2 separate regions of the Homo sapiens genome follow, and region 2 is linked to region 1. Evidence: promoter capture Hi-C in human tissues and cell types (Jung and others, 2019). All regions are on one chromosome and are shown on one strand. Each heading gives the region's core, a stretch centred on a gene start or on the middle of the fragment in contact. The rest is flanking DNA. Distances are from core to core; before and after follow the strand shown.

Region 1 (4,491 bases), core at 475-2,974:
CATGGTGGTCCCTGGCTCTTGTGGGGTCACCATATTGATGCCAAACTGAGGACACCCAACGCTCGTTGCGTGCTACAGCCAAGAACTCCTGGGCTCAAGTGATTCTCCTGCTTCGGCTTCACTAGTAGCTAGGACAATAGGCCTGCACCACCAAGCCAAGCCAGAGTCTGTGATCTAACCATTCTATTATGCCACCTTTCCCAAAGATGTTTACAGTTTTTCTTAACTGTAACCAGTGTAGAAAATTAAAAATTTGTGGAGGATCTTAAATTTGAGGACAGAGTTAAGGAATATATCCCTACGTACATGGCTAAATGTAAATATGTAGCAATGCCTAATAGAGGCCAGGCACTGTTCTGGTACTCTGGGTAGGGGTGGATGGGGTGGATAGGGAATATAAGGACAAATGATATAGGGTCCACGAAGAACTCTCAACCTAATTCTGATGCAATGTGGTGTTGGTATTTGAGAGTTTCCAAAATGTTGTGGGTAGGAGAGCAAAACAATAATATTTGGGTTTTAGAAAGTAAGGCATAAAATAATTTGTTCATTAAATCAAAGGAAGTAAGAAGATCACTTGGGAAAGTTATAATCCAAAAATAGTTAAGTATTTGAGTTTCAGCAGGAGGAATGAAAACAGATTACTTTAAGGAAATATTTCATAATTAGAAATATCCAGGTTTAGATACTGAAAGTGAGGGCCAGAGATAGGAATGGGTTGAAGATGACGCCACAGTCTTCTTTTTTTTTTTTTTTTTTTTTTGAGACGGAGTCTCACTCTGTTGCCCAGGCTGGACTGCAGTGGCACGATCTCAGCTGACGGCAACCTCTGCCTCCCGGGTTCAGGCGATTCCCCCACCTCAGCCTTCAGAGTAGCTGAGATTACAGGCGCGCGCCACCAGGCCCGACTGATTTTTGTATTTTTAGTAGAGACGGGGTTTCACCATCTTGGCTAGGCTGGTCTTGAACTCCTGACCTCAGGTGATCCGCCCGCCTCGGCCTCCCAAAGTGTTAGGATTACAGGCGTGAGCCACCGCACCCGGCCTACAGTACTTCTAACGTAACATCGCAGAAACACTGGAGGAGAGAAGAGAATACACTTCCACTCGGAATTCGCACCCTGGTCGCCTTCATTCGCTGGGTTCACTCGCTGAACTGCCTCGCCCCCGCCCGGGAGGATGACATCTCGGCCTGGGCAGAGACTCGAAAGCCTCCTCCTGCCGCTCGGGATGCTAACAGCAGGGAGAGCTGTGTCTAGTTTTTTTTTTTTTTTTTTTTTTTTTGAGAGGGAATCTCGCTCTGTCCCCCAGGCTGGAGTGCAGCGGCGCGATCTCAGCTCACTGCAACCTCCGCCTCCCAGGTTCAAGCAATTCTCCTGCCTCAACCTCCCGTGTAGCTGGGACTACAGATGCCGGCCACCACGCAAGGCTAATTTTTTTGTATTTTTAGTAGAGACGGGGTTTCACCATATTGGTCAGGCTGGTCTCGAACTCCCGACCTCAGGTGATCCGCCCGCCTCAGCCTCCCAAAGTGCTGGGATTACAGGCGTGAGCCACCGCGCCCGGCTTGTGTCTAGTCTTGCCCGTAGCAGCGTCGCCGACAGCCACGCCGGGTTGTCAGAGCCTCACTAGTTTTTCTCCCGGCCGCCGCTCTTCCCGGATTCAGCCACCTTCCCTCTTCCGGGAACTTGCCCGCGTGTTCCGGCTCCAGGAAGTGCGTCATCAGTCGGCGCCAGCGGCCGCACGCCGCGGAGCAGGGGCTCGGAGGTCCCGGGATTACGGTGCTCGAGCACGCTGGTGGGAAAGGACCCGGGACTTGAACAGTGTTGTGCGGCGCCATGCAGGTCTCCAGCCTCAATGAGGTGAAGATTTACAGCCTCAGCTGCGGCAAGTCCCTTCCTGAGGTGAGTCACTTCCCGGCCCCCTCACTCTCGAGCTCTTGGGGGTCGTCCTCCTCGTGGGGCAGCCGCCCCTCTCCTCGGCCCTAGCCTCTGTTTTAGCTGGACGCTGGTCACCCCCCGACTCGGGGAGGCCCAGAGGCGGCTGACAATTTCCGGGGGAGGTGTCGGCATTGGGAGACAAGGACACTGCCGTCACCGCGCCAGAAACTGGACCAAGGGATAATCAGGGTCAGTGAGCTTTGCTGGAACTTTTGTAAAGTTCTCTGTTCCAGAGAACGCAACCATTTGGGCCTCTTTGGGTGTTCACAGTCCCTGCCGTACATCGAGGAGGAAAACGTGGCAGATTCGTTGACACATCTCTCCCCCATATGGCCATCAGCTGTTTGTGGAGTCCCTATCATTTGCCAGGTCTTAGGGATACAACAGTGAACAAGGGAGATACAGACTTCGCATCTGCAGAATTTATGGTGTAGAGGACAGTATTTTCGAGACTTGTTGAACTTAACCTGATTCCTAGTCTTAAAGTTGGAGAGGGCTTGGACAAGTCGGTAATTCTCTTCCAATCTTCTCGTGTTTAGTAATGCAGCTGAGATTTAATAATGCGTTTAATATGCAGCTGAGATCCAGCAAGGGGAAGGGTGACTTGTCCAGCATGACACACTTAGGCTCTGAAACTTGTCTTTTGTTTCTTATACGTGATGATCCAGCCTCTGTCCAAGCACTACCACTGAGCACTACCTTTTGTGGAAGCTCATTTCCATTTTGAGACTCTGCACTTGTTAGAAAGTGGTTTTCAAATATGTCACCTTATAGCATGCCACTGTTGGCCTGAGTCCTGCCCTTGGAAAACAGAATAAATATAGCTCTCCTTCCATGCGTCTGCTTCTACAAAAATTTGGAGCCAGTGCTTAGGTTTTTCCTTTCTTCCTAAAATTCTGGTTTGAATAATTCCCTGTCTTCCAGTTGTTCTTCACACCCCATGAGCTTTCTCATTTTGTTCATTCATTCTCCACATGTATTGAGAAGTTACTGTGTGCAAGCAACTCTGTTTTAAGTATTGGGATCTATAGTGGACATTTCAGATAAGGTTCCCTGTTGGGGAAAAGGGAAATAAACAAGTGAGCAAATAAGGCAATTTAAGGTAGTCAAAAAGTACTTTTCGTGGTGAATGATTAGAAGAGAGCTGTTTTGGATAAAATATTGAGAGAAAGTGTTTTGGATAAAACCTTCGGGGAAGGCCTCTCTACAAGAGGTGACATATGAGCAGAAACTTGGATGATGAAGAGGAGCCAGTCGTGTGAAGATGTGGGGAAGAGTTTTCAGTGCTGAGAACAGAAAGTGCAAAAGCCCCACATGGGAATGCACTGGACATGTAGGAGGACGGAAGAGGCACAGGTGTGATTGCACTATGCTGAGTGAGGGGGCGAGAGCAGGGTGGATGAGGCTGGAGAGGTAGGCCTGGTAGGAAAGGTAGGAAGTTCAAGTTTTATTCTTAGTGCTGCTGGAAGTCACTGTTGTGTGGGCTGCTGTGCGACAAATGTCTAGCTGGGGAGGGTTCAAGTCGGGATGAATTAGGTAGTCCAGGTGAGCGACTTCGGTGGCTTGGGCTTGCCTGGTAACAAAGAAGATGCTAAAACACAGTGAGATTCAGGACATACTTTGTAGATAGGGTAATGGAACTTGCTAATGGATTGGACTGTTGGTAGAGGGAAGTTGAGGTGACAAAAAGGAAGGAATCAGAGAACTCTTCAGTTTTGAGTCTGAACAAGTGGGTGCACGGTGGTGCTGCTAACTGACATGGAGAAGAATCAAGAAGGAACACATTGAAAGGTGGAGAGGAGGAACGTAGTGAGCAAAAAGAATCAAGATTTTTTTTTGAGGTCGCGTGCAATGGCCTGATGTTGGCTCACTGCAACCTCTCGGGTTCAAGCGATTCTCCTGCCTCAGCCTCCCCAGTAGCTGGGACTACAGGCACGTGCCACCACACCAGCTAATTTTTGTATTTTTAGTAGAGACGGAGTTTCACTATGTTGGCCGGTATGGTCTCGATCTGATCTTGTGATCCACCCACCTCGGCCTCCCAAAGTGCTGGGATTACAGGCATGAGCCACTGCACCCGGCCCAAGGTTTTTATTTTCAATAGTGAACATTTGAAGTTCTAATACATACCAAATGGAGATGTTGAGTAGTTAGCAGTTGCATGGATACTAGGATGGAGATTGCAGGTGAATTTACTGTCGTTATTTGGGACTAGGTGAGATCAAATTGTGAGAGAAAGAACAGAGAAGATAACTAGGCTGAGGACCTGAGGCAGTCTTAGCATTTGTCATCCAAGAAGAGGAGGGGAACCCAGCAAAGAAGAAAGAGTAGTGGGCACTGATGGAAGGGGAGACTGGGAAATGTGTAGTTTTGTAGAAGTAAGTGTTTCAAGGAGGAGGTGGTGGTCACCTGTGTCAGCTGCTACTGAGAGCTTCAGTAAGATGAAGGCAGAAAAATGACCATCGACTTTGGCATGATGCAGAGCGCCCTTGACCTTGGCAAGGAGCTCCAGTGGAGTGGTGGGGAGGGTAGCTTGAGCTGAGTGGATTTGG
Region 2 (4,771 bases), core at 1,045-3,544, 260 kb after region 1:
ACCTCGACATCACACACAAAGTCACACCATCCCCACACCATTCCCACACACCCAAACACACCACACACATCCACAGCACACACTAAGACCACATGCCCCAGCCACACACACACCCAAGACAACACACAGACGCACACACACACACCTAGTGGATGAGCCCGCTCGAGCCCGGAGGGCCTGGCTGCAGCTGGAAGAGGCCGTGGGCAGGTGGCTCCAGGGCGGGCCAGGGTCTGCCTTCCCGTGAACTGCAGGAGGCAGGTGGCCCCTTCAGGTCGGGGCCCCATGGTACAGTCACACAGCCCGCTGGGAAGAGCCGGAGGAGCTGAGGCCTTCCAGGGGCCCTCCAGGGGCTGCCGCCCCGCCCGCCCCCGCTGGCCTCAGTCACCCCTCCTCCCGAGCTCCCTCCCACCCTCCCCAGCCTCCTGCCCCAGGCAGGCTGTACCCGCCCCCGCAGCTCCTGCGCCCCGGCAGTGCCCTGCTGTGCCATGCCCCGCGCTGGCCCTGGGGAGGTGTTTGCTGGATAAACAGCTGCCCCCCGGGGCCCAGGCCGCAGTGCTCCTTCGCCACCGTGTCTCCAGCATCACCCCTTCTCCTCTGAGACCTCTTCCCAGGCCACAGTAAGGGAGCCCCAAGCCAAGGAGAGGGCGTGCCCAGCTTAAAGGAAACTGACCTTGGCCCTGCCCTACCCCGCCCCACTCTGGGCCGGGATACATCGCTGCCGACCCGGAGCCGGAGCCCAGGACCAGCGGGCACCAGGCCCCTGCGCCGCAGTGGCGGGGTCAGAGCGGCAGGACTGGGTGGCTGGTGACAGGTGGGACTAGCGCGGGACCACTTGCCTCTCGAGCCGAGCCCCGCCCCTGCCCCACAGCTCCATTTTCTTCTTGTTCCTTTCAGGGCTGCCAGGCTGCCCCAAGCCGGAGTCTGTTCCCCGACGGCCGAGGCTCCCGCTGGCTGGCAGCTCCCCAGGCGTGTGGGTTTGATTCCCAACGGCGCCCAGCCCAGGGCAAGGCGGCTGGGGGAAGGCCACGCCACGGATGAACCCAAGGCCGAACTCCTGTTTTTCTAAATACCTTTTCCGGGGCCCACGAGGTCCCTCTCAGAAGCCTGAAGGTCCTGTGGGTTCTGTCTCCTCTTGGGGGGCTGTGATCCTAACTGGACCCCCGTTTTGGGTCCCTGCTCATGCGCACCCCTGATCTCAAGAGGCAGATAGAAGATCTAATGACGTACCTGCCTAAGCCCGGCAAGGAGGGGAGGGTTCCATTCGGAGTCCAGTGCCCCGCCCTGAGAAACGGGCGCTCAGGAGGGCGCCCCTCAGGCAGTGGTGGGGAGGCGCGCCCCCTTCTCCACTAGGGCGTGACCTGGCACGGGGTGGGGAGGGAGTCAGGCCTGGGTGCCACAAATACAGTGCGTTTAAGTCTTGTTCAGGGACCCAGGGAGAAACTCCTTCATTTCTCTAGACACCAGGGGCCCTGAAGGAGGCCGCTGGCAAGGAAACATGGACCCGGCTCCAGCCCAGCTACTGGAAGACCTTTCTGGAATCGGGAGAAGACGCACCTCGGACTTGGGAGCTGATCCTTCTTTCAATTCCTGATTCTGCCACCTCTTGCTAAGGATTTCAGGCTAGTTACTTAACTTCTCTTAAACCAGCATTATCAATCTGTATAATGTGGTAGTGATACCACATTGCAGGGTTGATGGGAGGGTTAAATTAGACGTTTAAAGTTTTAAACAGTGTCTGTACGTGGAAACCCTTGATAAATGGGAGCTAATGTTTTGCTAGCTCAATGCTGGTTCCCACGCGGGAGGCCAGTCTACCCAAGCAGAAAATGCCTGGGGCTGTATTAATTAAGGCCTAAGGTTCAGAGTAAGGGAGGTGACAGTCTTGCCCTACTAGGGGTTCATCGTGGCCTGACTAGATGAACTGTCTTGGGACTAACACCTCATACTGCCACCCTTCCCTCCACACTCCAGGGCTTCCTTCCTTCGAGTCTAAACATTTTCCTGTCTCAGGAGTTGTTCCCATTACCCTGTATTTACTCAGTGAGCATGGGACACCATGCAGTGAGTGTCAGGACAGCTGGTGGATGGGACCATGGAGCCACCGGAGCCATTTTCCAGAGTTTCTGTTGAGTCCACCCACATAAGCCTTGCTTATGCAGGTACATGATTAGATCTTCTATCTGTCTATAGGATAAGGGACACTTGTATGCAACTCCCAAGGAACTTTAACAACTTGGAGTGCCCGTGCAGGATGGCAAAGGGTCTGGGATCCCCTGGGGCAAGGAGAAGGCAGGACAAGAGAGAAGCTTGCAGAAGGAGGTGGTTGGAGGAAGAGGAAGCAGGCCCAGGGCCAGTACTGCAAATTACCAGGGAAGGACAGGTGGAGACACTTTCTTTCTTTTTTTTTTTTTTTTTGAGACAGAGTCTCTGTCACCCAGGCTACAGTGCAGTGGCACCGTCTCGGCTCACTGCAACCTCCGACTTCTGGGTTTACGCCATTCTCCTGCCTCAGCCTCCTGAGTAGCTGGGACTACAGGCGCCCACCACCATGCCCGGCTAATTTTTTATATTTTTAGTAGAGACGGGGTTTCACCGTGTTAGCCAGAATGGTCTCGATTTCCTGACCTCATGATCCACCCGCTTTGGCCTCCCAAAGTGCTGTGATTACAGGCGTGAGCCACCGCACCCAGCCGAGACACTTTCTAACAACCCGCCCTGAAAGATCCTGATCCCGGACAAAGGAAGAGACTGAGGAGGCCTCCTGCTGGGTGGGTGGCATGGACGACAGTTTTGGGTTCACTTCTGGGTTCTTTCCTCCTCTGATAGGCTGGGCTTCTTGGCACAGGGACACCATCTTTGGGGTTCAATTCCCTGCCTTCCCAGAGAGCACTGGACTCCTGGACAAATCATACTGGCTTCTGTGAGCTCCTTGTAGGGCAGGGTCCACTAGGATCCCCATATCTACCTCCTCCATATCTGAGCAGAGGTGGTTATAATGGTTAATTTTATGTGTCAACATGACTGGGCCAGGGGGTACCCAGACATTTGGGCAAACCGATTATTTTGGGTGTGCCTGTGAGGGTGCTTTTGGATGAATTTGACATTGGAACTGGTGACCAATGGGGGAACCAGGTGGGGTAAAGCAGATCCCCCTCCCCAATGTGGGGGTCCTCATCCACTCAGCTGAAGGCCTGAATAGGACAAAAGCCTGAGAATTTGTTCTTTGCCTCACAGTCTTGAGCTGGGACATTGGCCTCCTCCTCCCTTAAGATTCAGACTGGAACTACACCATTAGCTCTCCTGGGTCCCCAGCTTGCTGACCTCTGTCTACAGGGGACAGGGCTGCTTGTCTCCTTGGGACCTCTCAGCCTCCATAATCACGTATAAGCCAATTCCTTATGATAAATACATCTATCTAACCATCCATTCGCCTACCCATTCATCCATCCATCCATCCATCCATCCATCCATCCATCCACCCACCCGCCCACCCATCCATGCATCCACCCTCCCATCCAACCAATCACCCACCCATCCATACATACATACATCCACCCACCTGCCCACCCATCCACCCATCCATCCAGCCACCCACCCACCAACCCATCCATGCATCTACCCACCCACCCAACCATTCACCCATCCATCCATCCATCCATCCACCCACCCACCCACCCACCCATGCATGCATCCACCCACCCACCCAACCATTCACCCACCCATCCACCCATCCATCCATCCACCCACCCACCCAACCATCCATCCACCCATCCATCCATCCATCCAGCCACCCATTCATCCATCAACCGATCCACCTAGGGACCCATCCACCCACCCACCCATCCACCCATACTCCCATCCATCCATCTACCCACCGACCCATCCATCGACCCACCCATCCACCTATCGATCCACCCACCGACCCACCCATTCACCAACCCATCCACCCAGCCATCCATCCACCCATCCATGCATCCACCTGTCTATGCATCCACCCACCCATCCATTCACCCACCCATCCCCTCACCCACTCATCCATACATCCATCCATCCATCCATCCACCCACCCACCCACCCATCCATCCACCCACCCCTCCCATCCATGCATGTCTCCTATCAGTTCTGTTCCTGGAGAACCCTGACTAATGTAGTGGTCACTCCCATCTGTTTCTGTTGGACTCTGTCCCCATCATAAGTGAGCCCTCCCCACAACAAGCACTCTTGATTTAACCTTTGCCAGTCCCAGTTAAATGTTTATAAAATTCAAGCCGTTCACTGGCTGTTCTTCCAGGTGAGGCAGTGTTGCCAAAGGCACCGTCTTGCCTCTTTGTAGCAAGCTAGATCTGCCCAGGGCACCTGGCCTCCATCTCGCACCCCACCTGGTTCCCCCATCAAGGCTTGGTGGCTCTGGGTGCATGGAGAGTTTTACTATGAAATAGCTCTAGCAGTGCCATTGACTCAGAAGGCACTTGGCAAACAGACTCACCATTTCTATTAAAAGAGACATGGAGTCTTAAAAAATATTAAAATGACTAAAATCAACAAATTAGCTGCTGTTGCTGAAGGCCTGCTGGGAGGCAGGTTCCAAGCCATGCGCTTTGCATATGTGACCTTGAGCCACCCAGCTCCCCCCATCCCCTACAGTGAAGACACTGAGGCACAGAGGAGCCGACAGCAGCAGGCAGGTGGGCAGACGCCGTAGTGCCCGTCCTGGTAATAGAACCTCCATTCCACTCACCCCTTCCCAACCCTATGCCCTCTGGGGGAGGCA

Evidence for each region. The method cuts DNA at HindIII sites, captures the fragments that hold promoters and counts their contacts. A contact is called where the count stands out against the background at its distance.
Region 2: a fragment that was not itself captured here is called in contact with the fragment with the promoter of NOL10 in region 1 in 1 of the 25 tissues and cell types used here (lymphoblastoid cells).

The regions. Positions count from the first base shown.
Region 1 is chr2:10,687,208-10,691,698 of GRCh38, reverse strand. It overlaps NOL10 (nucleolar protein 10), which reads left to right and starts at 1,724. Exons shown (of 21, transcript NM_024894.4): 1 at 1,724-1,903. The coding sequence starts at 1,838. It also overlaps the pseudogene RN7SL832P. RefSeq lists enhancers at 1,878-2,157, 2,218-2,277. The HindIII fragment of the contact is 16,217 bases long and covers 1-4,491 here.
Region 2 is chr2:10,428,544-10,433,314 of GRCh38, reverse strand. LOC124907732 (a long non-coding RNA gene) reads left to right here and starts at 502. Exons shown (of 2, transcript XR_007086214.1): 1 at 502-617; 2 at 1,458-1,729. RefSeq lists a silencer at 391-450 and an enhancer at 1-696. The HindIII fragment of the contact is 4,159 bases long and covers 215-4,373 here.